Regions from separate parts of the Homo sapiens genome. Here region 1 is linked to region 2. Evidence: promoter capture Hi-C in 16 types of primary human blood cells and fetal thymus (Javierre and others, 2016). All regions are on one chromosome and are shown on one strand. Each heading gives the region's core, a stretch centred on a gene start or on the middle of the fragment in contact. The rest is flanking DNA. Distances are from core to core; before and after follow the strand shown.

Region 1 (7,769 bases), core at 3,780-6,279, 590 kb after region 2:
TTTAAGTATGGCTTTGATTTCAGAGAGTCTTTCTGCAGTGTGACCTCGTTTTCCTGTTAATTTAGTTGGGATTCATCCCATACTCATCACCAACTTGACATTACCAGCCAAGTAGTTGCAGAGGTCACAGAACAGAAAGTCTCACCGGACAAGTTAAACTCTTCCAGGCACTTAATGTATTAAGTCAATTTAAAACACACACGGAGATGCAAGGGAAAAGAAATACGGTTAGTTAGCAGACTTAGTGTAGGGTGTGAGCAGGATGAAGGGCCAGGCTCTCTGAATCCTGGTACATGACAGTGTTCATGTGGTGTGTCTGTCATTTGTCTCTGTCTCATCAGCTGTCCCTATAGATGATGTTATAAGGACTAGTGTTGAGGTTTGAGCCAGGGTGCCCAACCATAGGAGGTGCCTGGCACCAAGGCGGCAAGGATGCCTGGCCACTTGACAGCTTGTCAATTAGCCTGCTGAGCAGATAAGGGTTTTATTTGCTTTTCTTAGACAGAGAACAGGTAGGGCCAGAAAGGGTGTCACTGATGGGTGGTTGAATTCAAACCTCATGAATATGTATTGCCTCAAGTGCCTCCTGTATATTTAGAGTAATATATGTTGGGTATCTCTCAGTCCATTCTCTCACGCTTTGCTTGCTAACAACTTTTCTTTATCTAACGTATCTTGAGAATTTTGTGGATGTCTTCCAAGCTACATACTTACTACTCATCTATACTTCTATCTTAAGTTTCTTCCTTTCCATTTTTTTCCTTCCATAGCAGAATTGAATATTAACAAACACCACCAAAACATGCACGTAATGCTATGCATTTTATACTCTACTACCCCAACCTGTTGAGCAACGGGACTAGGGAGGGAGACAAAGCCAACATTCATTTATGTGTTATCTCAGGTTCTCTTCTATTACTTTTATTACTAACACCACTATTAGCAAACATGGCTTTCCATCTGCAGGCCAAATGAGCCTGCCAATACCAGGTTCTAGAATAAGATCTACTTGCTTGATCACTGGTAGAACTGGACAACTGCTGTAGCTGATAAACTGTTTGCTTCCTCATCTTTGTGGGGAGCTGGTGCCCTAAGACTCAAGGCACAGAGGAGCAGAGAATGCATGCTTCCCCAGATAGGTAGACCCCAGAGGGAGATGGAAAGGAAAGGGGCTAGGCCACAAGGCCTAGAAAAGGAAACAAAAAAATAGTTGCAAGCATTTGATCACATCGGAATATGAACATATGTGATAATTTTCTGAAGACAAGAAATTATTAAAGCCAGAAAAACAACATTTAAATTAAGCATAGTAGTAAGTAAATTTAGCTTCTTAAAAATGAGAGACTTGTGCTTCAAGTGACTCAAGAAATCAGTATACTCATGCCTGTAATTGCAGCACTTTGCTGCAGGCCGAGGCGAGTGGATCACCTGAGATCAGGAGTTCAAGACCAGCCTAGCCAACATGGTGAAACCCGTCTCTGCTAAAAATACAAAAATTAGCTGGGTGTGGTGGTGGGCTCCTGTAATCCAAGCTACTCAGGAGGCTGAGGTAGGAGAATCACTTGAACCCGGGAGGCAGAGGTTGCAGTGAGCTGAGATTGCGCCACTGCACTCCAGCCTAGCAACAGAATAAGGCTCCTTCTCAAAAAAAAAAAAAAGAAAATAAATCAGTATAAAGCTACAAACAGAGGACAGCATCTTAGAGGTTGACTCTTGTGAGTTAAGAGTTCACTGTGCGGTTGTATAGATTTATACACACACACACACACACACACACACACACACACAAGACAGAGGAATTGATTTAGCATAGGAATTGGCTCACGTAATTATGGAGGCCCAAGGAGTCCCACAATTTGTTGTCTGCAAGCTGGAGACTCGGGAAAGCCAGTGATGTAAATCAGTTTGAGTTTGAAGGCCTGAGAATCAGGAACAGTGAAGTGACGGTGTCAGTCTCGGAGTCCAAATGCCGGAGAACCCAGAGTGCTGATGTCTGAGGCCAGGAGAAGATGGATGTCCTAGCTCAAATGGAAGAGATCAAATTCGCCCCTCCTCTGCCCTTTTGCTCTGTGTGGGCCCTTAACAAATTGGATGATGCCCACTCACACTGGGAAGAGCTACCCTCTTTACTCAGTCTACCAATTCAAATGGTAATCTTTTCCAGAAACACTCTTACAAATACACCCGGAAATAATGCTTTACCAGCATCTGGGTGTCCTTTAAGTCCAGTCAAGTCGATACCTAAAATTAACCATCATGGCGGCCAACCGACTAAGTCTGCATGAGGAGGTAGTAGAGCCCTGGGGCTCACCGGCAAGTAAGAGGCACATTGCTTGCCTCCTCCACCGCCATCGAAATGTGTTGATTATATGTAACTTTGAGCTGTTAAATGTAATTCCACTGCAATTACATCATGAAACTGAGACAGTATGATGGGTTACTGACAAAAGTAAAATGGGTGTGAAAATGCCTCCATATGGAGACTCCATATGTGCATATGTTTTTTGTGTAGGTTTGCATATATAAGCACTTTTAATATGGAAAAATACACATTAAACCACTTCACATTGGTCATCTTGGGGGGATCAGATTGGGGAAGGGGAAGTTTTAAATTTTTCTTTCTATACTTCTATATTATATTTCTTTTATATTTTTATAACGTTAAAAATATCGTAAAAACCTCCTTCTCCACTTGAGTCATGTTCGAATGAAATCCCACTTACCAAGTCTGAACCGTCTTGGCGCACCATTATTAACTGAATGGTGCTTTGCATTTCTGAATGGCCTACTGTTGGAAAAAAAATCGGGAACCCTAACAACCGGCTGGATTTGAGGAATGGATAGAGCAGGTAGGAGGTACCTTACCTTTATTAAAATGCCACAAACACTTATTGTGTAAAGTTAAATAAGTCACTATTAAGAGCTGAATTGTCTTCCTCAAAATTTGTAAGTGGAAGTCCTAACACCTGGTACTTCAGAATGCGACTATATTTGGAGACAGGGTCTTTAAAGAGGCAATTGAGTTAAAATGAGGTCAGTAGGGTGGGCCTTCACCCAATCTGACAGGTGTCTTTATAAAAAGAGAGAGTTAGAGGACACAGACACACACAGAAGACCATGTGAAGATGCAGGGAGAAGACGTCATCTATCTGCAAGCCAAGGAGAGAGGCTTCAGAAGGAGCCAACCCTGCCAACACCTTATCTTAAACTTCTAGCCTCCAGAACTACAAGAAAATAGATTTTTTGTTGTTTAAGCCTCCAGACTGTGGGACTTTGTTACAGCAGCTCTAGAAAACCAAAAGAGCCACAAATACTCATATATAGTATGTCTTCATTCTAATGGTACATTAAAAAAAAGATTACTGCCTCATATTGATGTTTAACCATGTGTTTGATGTTCCTGCTTTTTAACTTTTAAAGATTCTTTTATAATTCCTTGCATTTTACCCTCAGAATAATCCAATGCATTCAGAGAAATCAGGTATTCTTATTTTACAAGTGAAGAAACTGAGGCACAGAAGGATTAAGTGACTTGACCAAAGTCTTCTAGCAAGTGGTCTCCTGAACCGACAGCCTTTCTATGTACCACATTCAACCTATCAAATGGAGTATTTCACAATAACTGTCTCTGCTGGTGCTTATTTCCACATAGGTCACATTCATTCAGCAAACATATTGAGCAACTAGTTTGTGTCTGTCTTTCTTAGGAGTTGAGGAGACAATGACGGAGAGGACACAGTCCTGCTTTTGAGGAGCACATGGTCTAGGTGTGTTGACAGACACATGAACAACATTTTATATAATGTGAGAAACACTATAATCACAGCATGAGTACGGCATTGTAGGGACACCACTGAGAATGTCTTTACAGATGTGGTAGAAACTGAGTGGGTCTTGAAGAATTCAAAGGAGTTTGTCAGACAGGGATGGGGATTCCCAATGGAAGAAGCTTCATGTGCAGAGGCCCAGAGTTGTGCAAGGTGGGAACAAGGACGCTGAGGATGGAAAAGAGATTGGAGTGTGGCAGTGCAGGGAGGGGGAGATTTCATACTTGTCTACTAAAAACGTTAGATACCTTTAGCTTTATGACAAACTCACTGTTTTGTGGTTCTTCATTTTTCACTAGTTTCACCAAGACAGACTTTTTTGGGGGCCGTTCCTATAGATCTTACTTCTCACATTTTAATGAGTATGATGTATCACCTGGGGATTTTGTTAGAGTGCAGATTCTGATTCTGAGAGGGGCCTGCTAGTCTGCATTTCTAGAAGATTCCATGTCAGATTCTCGCTGCTGGAGCCTGGACCACACTTTGAATAGCAAAGCTTAGTCTGTAAAGTAAGAAATCAGAAGATTGGGTTGACCACATTTGTATTTTAGGAAGTTAAACCAGACAAACATGTGTAAAACTGGTTGTAAGCGACTTGCTGCTGCAAGTCACAAAACAAAAGTTCTGCGGATATGTATCCTGTGGGTTATGACTCATTTCAGGAATTCCTCAAATGGCAAGAATACCTCAAAGATTCATGAAATATGCATTATTTGAATGTACTATGTATGTTTCTTCCTAATTTAATACTTTAGTCCTAGTATAGAAGTGGAATTTTAGTAGAATTCTTATAAGTAAGTAGTATGTTTCAATTACAGGATATCTACAGCAAAAAATAAAATGACTTAAAAATAATACAAATAAAACCAGCAGTAGTTGACTTGGTGCCATCTTTTCTCAGGAACGTGAGTAATGACTGGGTCCCATACATGGAGAACAGATTGCTCCACGCAAGGCCTATTAGAAGTTAACACCAAAGCAGATGTTCTTGAAGCTACTGTTACCATTATAGATGCAAATCCAGACAAGCTGTTCCCATTTTATAGGAAAAAAAATGTAATAATAAATTACCATACTTACCTTAATGGCTTAATAAGAATTCATTAGTGAGCATTCATAAAAGAGGATAAGAAGTTTAAAAATGTACTGCTTAAAATAATTAATACTTTTATCACATCAGAAGCCTAAGACATAGTAAGCAATAGCAGATGGTAATTTTAATATCTTACAAATATCATGAAGGCTGCTGGAACCCAAGGTAGAAAACTGCAAAATACAATGACTTTGGGGTCAGTTGTAATTATAAAGAAGCTCAAAGGTCAGAGACCAGATGGAATCCCTCTCAAGTTTAATCCAGAGATGTTTCTCACAAAGAATTTAATAGGTGATTGCTTTCCCTCAAAGCCTATTTGAATGCTAGCCCTGAAAGAATTTACAAATTTTAAAGGGGGAACTTGGCCGGGCACGGTAGCTCACACCTGTAATCCCAGCACTTTGGGAGGCCTAGGAGAGTGGGTCGCCTGAGGTCAGGAGTTCGGGACCAGCCTGGTCAACATAGTGAAACCCCGTCTCTACTAAAAATACAAAAAAAAAAAAAATTAGCCTGGTGTAGTGGCACATGCTTGTAATCCCAGCTACTCAGGATGCTGAGGCAGGAGAATTCGCTTGAACCTGAGAGGCGGCGGTTGCAGTGAGCCAAGATCACACCATTGCACTCCAGTCTGGGCAACACAAGCGAAACTCCGTCTCAAAAAATTATAAAATAAAATAAAATACAGGGGGATCTTATATTCTTTGGCCTTATATTCTATAAGGAGCTTTCTGGTGCCTTGAATCAACACAATTCCTGATGGATTCAAAGCCAAACTTTATGTAGTTTCCCATTGCCTCATTAAACTGCTCAGTGGTAGAAGCTTTTTCCTGTCCACTGGAAGAACACTAAGGCAGGCTATGACTTTCCTTGTTCATTTTTAGGTAATAAACAAGTCTTAGGCATGTTATAAGACAAACATAGCCTCAATTTTAAAATATAGTGCAGGTGTCAAAAATAGTTCAAAACTGGAAACCATCTATAAGGCTATCTTAGCCATTAAAATCCAAGCTGGTGAGAAGAAATAGGGAGAAGAAGAAATAGAGATGTGTGTATATTTTTAACATTTGGAAACATCTAAAAGCTTTAAACTGGGATGTCAAAATGTGCCTTACCTTTTTTTTTTTTTGTAAAAACCCAATTAGCTGATCAAGTATATGAAAAGCTGCCATTCCTCTACCTCCAATCCCTCCTCATACAAAGCAGTGGTCTTTACTGGGGTCCAAGGATGATGCCCAGTATGTTTACAAAATTATCCTTTGTGATGCAGGGAGAATATTGGAATTATTTTTCATATTTATTTGTCTGAAAATGAGATACATTAAGCTTTAATAATATTTATTTTATTTATTCCTGTTTTTGAGACAGTTCTCGCTCTGTCACCCAGGCTGGAGTGCAGCGGCTCACTGCAACCTCCGCCTCCTGGGTTCAAGCAATTCTCGTGCTTCAGCCACCTAAGTAGCTGGGATTATAGGTGTGTACCACCACACCCAGCTAATTTTTGTATTTTTAGTAGAGATAGGGTTTCAAACTTCTGGCCTCAAGTGATCTGCCCACCTTGGCCTCCCAAAGTGCTAGGATTATAGGCATGAGCCACCCCACTCAGCAAGGTTTATTAATATTTAATATTCTAACTGACTTTAGTACCTGCACTTTCTCATCGAATAGAAGGATGGGTGGATGGATGGATAAAAAGATAGGTAGATAGATAGATAGATGTATGATGTATGTATGGGTAGATAAGTAAATAGATAACAGCTAGATGGATGAGTTAATGGGTGGATAGACAGATGATAGATGGATGATAGATGGTTGATAGATAGGGAGGAAAGTAGATAATAGATACATAGATAGATGTACTTTTTTCTTTTCTTTTCTTTTCTTCCTTTTTTCTTTTTTTTTTTTAATAGCTAGGACTGTGGGATAAACAAAAGTTGGAAACCACTGGTCTAAAATACTAGGACATTTTTGTTTTGCATTTCCAGAATCTGGCAAGGTACTACTTAATTTATTCAAGTTGTTTTCAAGGGGTACCATTTAAGAGGGCTGATTTTTAGATGGAAAGAACAGTAATGCCAGTAGTACACAGATATTATCTAACCTAGAAAATGATTGTCTTGAAAAGGTAGTCCTAATTTTCTTGTATCAGAATTTACTTTGAATAATGCTACAGGAAAAGAGCTGTATGATGGATGCCAGGGCAGGCGCGTGCTGTAGACGTGGAAGCAGAAGAGCACCCAGGATATGGGGTGATGAAGAATGTTGTCACAGAGTAGGGAAGAGCAGAACTCTTTTACCAGGTAGAAGCCCAATACCACACACACACACACACACACACACACACACACACACGAAAAAGAGGAGCACTAATGAGAGGAGAACTGGGCCTTGAGACCTAGGCTTTCATGCCCCCTTCTTTTGCCTCCCAGAGGCCAGTAAAGCCTCTCTGTGGGCTTCCTGGGTTCCAGGGAGAACAGTTCACATCAGTGGTATGAAATCACGGCTTTCAAGACTTTGCTTCAGCAGAGACCTATCATAAGAGATGCATTTTACATTGGAAATGCAAACATGTCAGGATGTGTGTTTCTTGAAACTGCAGCTTGACTTGCTACCTTGAATGCACTGCCATGTCATCTGTTCCTGCATCTGAAATGCTGGCTAGTGTCCCTGGCATTCATGGCACAAGCCAGTGCAGTTGCAACCCACAGTCTGGAATTCACAGAGAATGGGAGATACGCTAGGAAAGGTTAGTATCAGCTGAAATGTTAAGGGTCTTAAGTTTCAGACAAGGAGGTTTAGGCGTTGTTATTTGTAACCAAGAGGGTCTCCTGAGGTTTTTAGAAGGGGGGCAA
Region 2 (7,069 bases), core at 3,126-5,625:
TGATGTGCATTAAAGAGTGCATTGTGTTTAAGAAATAAAAGATGGCCGGGTGTGGTGACTCCTGCCATCACTTTGGGAGGCCAAGGCAGGATGATCACCTGAGGTCAGGAGTTCGAGACCAGCCTGGCCAACATGGTGAAACTCTGTCTCTACTAAAAATACAAAAAATTAGCTGGGCTTGGTGGCGGGCGCCTGTAATCCCAGCTGCTCAGGAGGCTGAGGCAGGAGAATTGCTTGAACCTGGGAGGCAGAGGTTGCAGTGAGCCAAGATCACGCCATTGCACACCAGCCTGGGCAACAAGAGTGAAACTCCATCTCAAAAAAAGAAAAAGAAATAAAAGATGCTGGTTGATCTGTATCAGTATATATCCTTGTCAAGTTTCTTAATATCTCAGTTAAAGAAAGTTTCCTCCAGCAGCCTGGAAAGAAGAGCAAGTCACCTAAAAGAGGACAAAGGACTGGCTGTTCTCACATTTCTCCAAAACAACATTCAATGCCAAAGGGGCAAGGGAGGAAAATCAACCGAGTCTAGGCCAAAGGGAAGTAGGATGGAGACACAATGTGCCCACCTTGATGTCACTGCAATACAACAGCAACAGAATAACATCCTGAAAGTGGAGAGCATTGATAGATGCAGTATGTGGGATCACATCTTCACAGAGTCCATCCAGCTCATCAACAAAGAAAGTAGGAATGAGATATGGTGGTAGAAAGGTCTGGAGGTGCATAAGGTATCCTTTTAAATGGAGAACTAAGAAGAGACCACTGAGGGTTTATGGTTACAGAAATCAAAAATTTTAAACTTAACTATGTAAAACTCATATAACTAGGGAAACGTGAGAGGTGAGCTGAAGTGAAGTGGAGTGAGAGAGGTAATTGGTTCATGTATCATAGCAGAGTTACTGATACTGTCTGAAATTAAAGCTCATGGTTTAGAAGAAATGACGAAAACTGCTTATTATTGTCACTTTTCTTTTCCTTTAATCAAAGTGGGGTCATTTCAGAAATGATACATTTGTGGCAAAGAATCATTTCTATAAAATCAGCAATTCTTTAGATCCCATTTCAGAATTTTTTATTCTGTTAAATTTAAGTAGAATTAAATATCATATTTAACATGGATAAAATGTATAATAAATGTATTATATTTAAAATGATGCCCATTTTTATATCTATTGCCATGTGTACATATAGAAAGAGATAATTTTGTAAGGGTCACCTAACGGTAATGATGATTATGTCTGAAATTTGGGATGTTTCTATTTCCTTTGTGCTTTTATTCTTTTAAGGGATTGCCTATTAGGAATACTTGCCACTGTTACCAAAAAAACTATTTTTTTAAATTAAACACTATTTTTTAGAGCAGTTTTAGGTTCACAGTAAAAATGAGAGGCAGGTACCGAGGTTTCCCATATACCCACTGACCTCACACATGCACAGCCTTTCCCATTATCAACAGCCCCATCAGACTGGTACATTTGTTACAATTGATGAACCTACTTTGACACATCATAATCACCCAAAGCCTGAAGTTTACACTGATGTTCCCTCTTGGTGTTGTATATTGTATGGTGTTTAACAAATGTATAGTGCTGTGTATCCACCATTGTAATATCATACAGCATACTTTCACAGCCCTAAAAAATCTCTGTTCTCCTTCTATTCATCCTGCCCTCCCCACCAGCCCATGGCAGCCACTGATCTTTTTACTATCCAGATAGTTTGGCTCTTTCCAGAATATCACCTGTTGAAATTATACAGTATGTAGCCTTTTCAGAGGGCTTCTTTCACTTGGTAATATGCATTTAGATTTCATCCATTTCTTTTCATAACTTGCTAGTGCATTTCATTTTAGTGTGGAACAATATTCCATTACACTGATGTACAAGAGTTTATATATCCATTCACTTACTGAATGACATCTTGTTTGTGTCCAAGTTTTGGCAATAAACTTAGTAAATAAAGCCAGCGTAAACATTTGTGTGCAGATTTTTGTGTGAACATAAGGTTTGAACTCCTTTGGGTAAATACCAAGAAGCACAATTACTGGGTACTACTTTAGGTAAATACCAACTACTTTGGGTAAATACCAAGAAGGACAATCCTCTTATAATTACTCATGTTGTAAGAGGATGTTTAGTTTCATAAGAAACTGCCAAACTGTCTTCCACAGTGGCTGTACCATCTTGCATTCACAACAGCAATGAATGAGTATTTCTATTGCTTCACATCCTCACTAGTGTTCACTGCGGTCAGTGTTCCGAATTTGGGCCATACTGATATCTTACTGTCTTCATTTGCATTTCCCTGATGATACATAATGTGAACCATCTTTTAGGCTAGGCATGGTGGCTCACGCCTGTAATCCCAGCATTTTGGGAGGCCAAGGCAGGCAGATCACGAGGTCAGGAGATCGAGACCATCCTGGCGAACACGGTGAAACCCCGTCTCTACTAAAAATACAAAAAATTAGCCGGGCATGGTGGCGGGCGCCTATAGTCCCAGCTACTCGGGAGGCTGAGGCAGGAGAATGGCGTGAGCCCAGGAGGCAGAGCTTGCGGTGAGCTGAGATGATCGGGCCACTGTACTCCAGCCTGGGCAACAGAGTGAGGCTCCGTCTCAAAAAAAAAAAAAATTACTACATGATACTAAGTAATGCGGAAGGTGACTCAAAGGGGGAAAGGAACACAGCAGTGTAAAGGAAGGAGGTTGTAGATGGATCTAGAATTTCCCCCTCATTTCCATCAGGTGAAAGCCTGAGAAAACTGCAATCTTTGTGCAGGCTGGGTTTGCTTTGTACACACTGGTCCCCTAGTGTTCATCTCCAATAATGCTGACAACTCTGAAAACCATCTGTAGACATTCTGCAGGCTCCATCTCAGGAACAATGGCTATTTTTTCGGGTAGTTGAAGCAAAATTAAGTCCAATGATAAGCAAATATAACCATTATCAAAATCTTCCATTTATGTTTGTTAAAGCAACCTAAGTATGATCTGAGAAGGACTCTGTATTCTATATTTGAGTCCTTGTGGATGAACTGTAACCTAGCTTAATAGGCAGACAAGATTGAAAACCTAATTTAGGAGTATGTGCCTTTAACAATAGCTGAGTCTTGGCCAATCCCAGTGGCCATACTTCAACCATTCATACACTGCTGAGTGTTCAAACTGTGTTCAAAGAAGGCAAAAGCCAACCTGTAACCAATCCAGTTGTTTCTCTGCCTTACCTCCAATTTCTGTATGTCACTTCCCTTTTTTTGTCTATAAATATGTTCTGACCATGAGGCATCCCTGGAGTCTCTGAATCCGCTGTGATTCTGGAAGCTGCCCCATTCGCAAATCATTCATTACTCAATTAAACTGCTTTAAATTTAATTCTGCTGAAGTTTTCTTTTAACAGGTTTAGAAAAAATAATGGCAAAAATGAATGAAAATCCAATAACCCTGGAAGCAGAAAAGGCTGGGGGCTCCAATAAGTGTAAATAGTCCCATCCCTATATTTTCTCCATGGCAATTACAATCCAGCACATTATATATATATTTTTTTGCTTCTCGCATTTTGGCTTAGGGTAAAGCTTTTTAAAACAGGCACTGCCAACCAGTGTTATCAAGAAGGTCTGGATGCCGTTTTGTGGGAACATTTTAAAGAGGAATGTCCAAAAGGAAAAGGGGGATGGGTTGGGAGAAGGGTATCAGGCGGGTATCTCAAAACCATTCTTAGGGCTATAGGTTTAATTTATTTGGTTGTGGACGTCAGAGCCGTCATGGTAAGAAGGAAGCAAAGCCTTTTGTAATAATTAAAGCCTTCAGAAGCAGCGTGCCCCATTGCCCACTAGTGCGCCGTGAAGTCTGGTGTTCACCTACAGGGTCCCTCTCAGCACTGCCCAGGCCTCCCGAGTGCTCCAGCACAGTAGCTTGGAGCTTGTTGGTTTGGTGACCAAGATACACTCCAGGGAATATGCCATGCAGTGGAGTCTCTTCCCCGGCACTGCATAGCAAAAGGAAAGGGCCGCTGGGTGTCTGTGGGTCCTGGGCAGTCACAGAAGCCACCGCGCTGGCGGGGAGGAGGGGGACCGATGCGGTCCATGTCCCGGGCAGCCCCACCTTCTCTGCCTGCGAAGGGCCCTTGTCCGGCGGGAGGAGAGAGGCGCGCCCCACCCGGGCTCCTCTACACCTGCCGCCGCCTGGGCCGATTCCGCGGGCCTCGCCCGGCGCTTCAGCCGATTCCCGCCCAGCTCCGGGCTCATGGGCGCGGTCAGCAGGGCGGGCCAGGGCGGCGGGGCGCGACACTGGGAGGAAGTGCGGGCCGCCTGCCCGGGCGCGTTAAGGAAGTTGCCCAAAATGAGGAAGAGCCGCGGGCCCGGCGGCTGAGGCCACCCCGGCGGCGGCTGGAGAGCGAGGAGGAGCGGGTGGCCCCGCGCTGCGCCCGCCCTCGCCTCACCTGGCGCAGGTAGGTGTGGCCGCGTCCCCTACCCGGCCGGGACTTTCTGGTAAGGAGAGGAGGTTACGGGGAACGACGCGCTGCTTTCATGCCCTTTCTTGTTCTACCTTCATCGGCCGAGGTAAAAGTGCTGAAACCATGTGAATAAAATACAGGTGGGTTCCGCCAGCTTCGCTCCTGAACCTACCCGCGCTCGGGATCCAGAAGCTGCGCCGGGAGAGAGGGGCTCAGGCCTGGGCGGAGGGGACGGAGGTCAGACCGTGCGGAAAGTGACCCGGGCACCCCAGGGCGCCCAGGCCCCCAGGGAGCGCGGAAAGTGCGGTCGCGGCCCGGCCCTCGGGAGACGCGGGATTGGGATCAGGCACAGCGCGAGGAAGTCGATCTTGGAGCTAGAACATTTTCCTTTGGCCATTTACACGAATCCACTGGAAAATGCCGCAGTGTTTATCAAAGTTACTCAAAGTAGAAATGTCCAGACGTCTTATGAGCTTAGACAAATCTTTTACTACAAAAAGAAACAGCAGTTGCATTCAAACAACAACCCTTCTGAACCACTACTAAAATTTAGCATAATTACTCTTGTGGATACATTTTCATTGTCAAGTAATTTACTTAGCCAATGAACTTGGAGAGCAAGAAAGTTTTATGTAGTAAAATGTAAATTTGAGTTAAGAGTTAAGGGTGTTTCTTTTTGTCTGTTTGTCTGTTTTTGGCAATGTGGCTCCAAAACCTTAAGCCCACCTAAAAACTATATAAATGCAATCCATTCTTTTGTTGGAATGTTCAAGGACTAGAAAGACAATTGGAGAAGTGAGAGTTTGAATCTTTTTTTACGTTGGAAACAGTGTTGCAAAATATTTTTTGAGTTTTGCCTGACTTAGCAAAGATTCAGTCGAACTCAAGTAGAGTTCAAAGCATTGCAGCGTGTAGTAAAAAAAAAAAAGAGTTGAAGATGTTGTGCCATATCTGATTCTTGGTATTAAAAATAAAAAAAGGAACCATTTAATCCCTAAGAGTTCCTGGAAGAAATGGAATTGATTCTACCATCTGACTTCTTTGTCTTAGTAGGGACAAATTCATTGCCTTCACACAGGCAGCATTTTAATTAAATGCAACTAAATACATTGATGTCCTCCTTCTCCCCAGTGAAAGTCCGAGCAGTGCATAGATAGAATTATATTTTCTCAAAAAGGCTTAAATACATGTAAATTATTAAGTGTTTTAAGTGAGAAATCTTTGTCAGTTGAAATTATTTTATCAAATCATTTTTGTTCTGAACGGCACTTTTGTTTTAACGTATTTAGAAAACTCTTGCATTAAAACAGAAATTGATTTGTATTATCCCCTGTATTTGAAGTGCACTTTAAAGTGTATTTGAATGAGAGATTATAATCAAATTACTTGATTTGTGTCTTATCCTCTTACTCTTCTACCTTGGATTTGAAAAGGTTGGATTTGAACACTAGGAAAAAAGAGATTTTTCTACTGAGGGATTGTGGGAAGATTTTTTTTTAAGCCTCTGTATTTGAAGTGAAATATAAAATAGGATTTTATAATAGTCTTAATAACTAGAAAGTTTTAAGCTAGGATAAAAATGGGGTGTATACTTTAGGTCTTTATCTTTCCTGAGAGATGAAATTGGTAGAAACGTTATTTTATTGCTAGATTTCACTTTAGAAATGAATCACCCTGATCTTTGTTAGGCCCCTATTTAATATTCTAAATGCAGGTCTAATCTCTCTGCTTTTTTTTAATGGAAGACTTCTTAGTAGAACTTCACTTATTTAGCACATTGTTTGCCCATGGTTATAATCCAATATGCTTGTGCCAAGACGTATTTTGGAATTCAAGCTTTTTCAGAATTTGGAATTAAAATTTAGAATCTAAATTTCAGAACTGAGAAAGACATTGCTCAGAATTTAGAAAGGTAAACATACATGTTGACCCTGCTGGTTACATGCCATTCCAATATAGTCTGGAGAGAATCCTGTAATTCCATGCATTAATATTTCTGTACTTTTACATTTAAGAACATGAATATTCTCACTAAGTGGAATAAATAAAGACTATAAAGAGCTGTGTGTCTGTTTAGAGCAGGTGTTATCACTACGAGAGCTTCTCTAAGACTTACCAAAAAAAAAAAAAGTGTTGTTTTTCAGAGCTTTTTAGAGCTGCAGCTGAGGGACTGAGTCTGTATTAGACTCCACTGAACTACGGTTTGCTTTTAAAAGGAAAGTGCATTTATGTTGTTCAATACTTCACACTTTCCAGTAATTAGAAGGGCAGTTCCTCTCTCTTTAGGGAGTCTTAAATAGCAAGATTTTACTGAATTTTCAATCATACCGATCAAAATAGAGGTACTTCAAGTAAGAGTGGATGTCTCATCTTTGTAATATAATTTCAAACAGCATAGTTTCTGACAGTCTACCATTTTAGAGAAACAGAGCAGAAGTTACTTACAGGAGGGGTTACTGTCACCCTTTACAGCTGCAGTCTGTCCATGGAAGAAATATTATTTCCTGTTAACTTTGCAACCAGCTGGGTTTGTGTCAGTTATCTAAGCCTAAGTGATGGCTAATTTTTACTTTCTCAACTTTCCCTGTATAGATTTTTTTCCAGCTACCCCCT

What was found. Contacts are between HindIII fragments. The CHiCAGO score rates a contact against its expected background, and 5 or more counts as called.
Region 1: a fragment that was not itself captured here is called in contact with the fragment with the promoter of SYK in region 2 in 1 of 17 cell types (neutrophils); the score reaches 5.3 in neutrophils.

What each region holds. Positions count from the first base shown.
Region 1 is chr9:91,391,558-91,399,326 of GRCh38, forward strand. No RefSeq gene overlaps it. Among named protein-coding and RNA genes, the nearest start is that of NFIL3, 28 kb to the right of the region's middle. The HindIII fragment of the contact is 1,417 bases long and covers 4,322-5,738 here.
Region 2 is chr9:90,797,444-90,804,512 of GRCh38, forward strand. SYK (spleen associated tyrosine kinase) reads left to right here and starts at 4,376. Exons shown (of 14, transcript NM_003177.7): 1 at 4,376-4,450. RefSeq lists silencers at 4,125-4,334, 4,355-4,514. The HindIII fragment of the contact is 2,717 bases long and covers 3,574-6,290 here.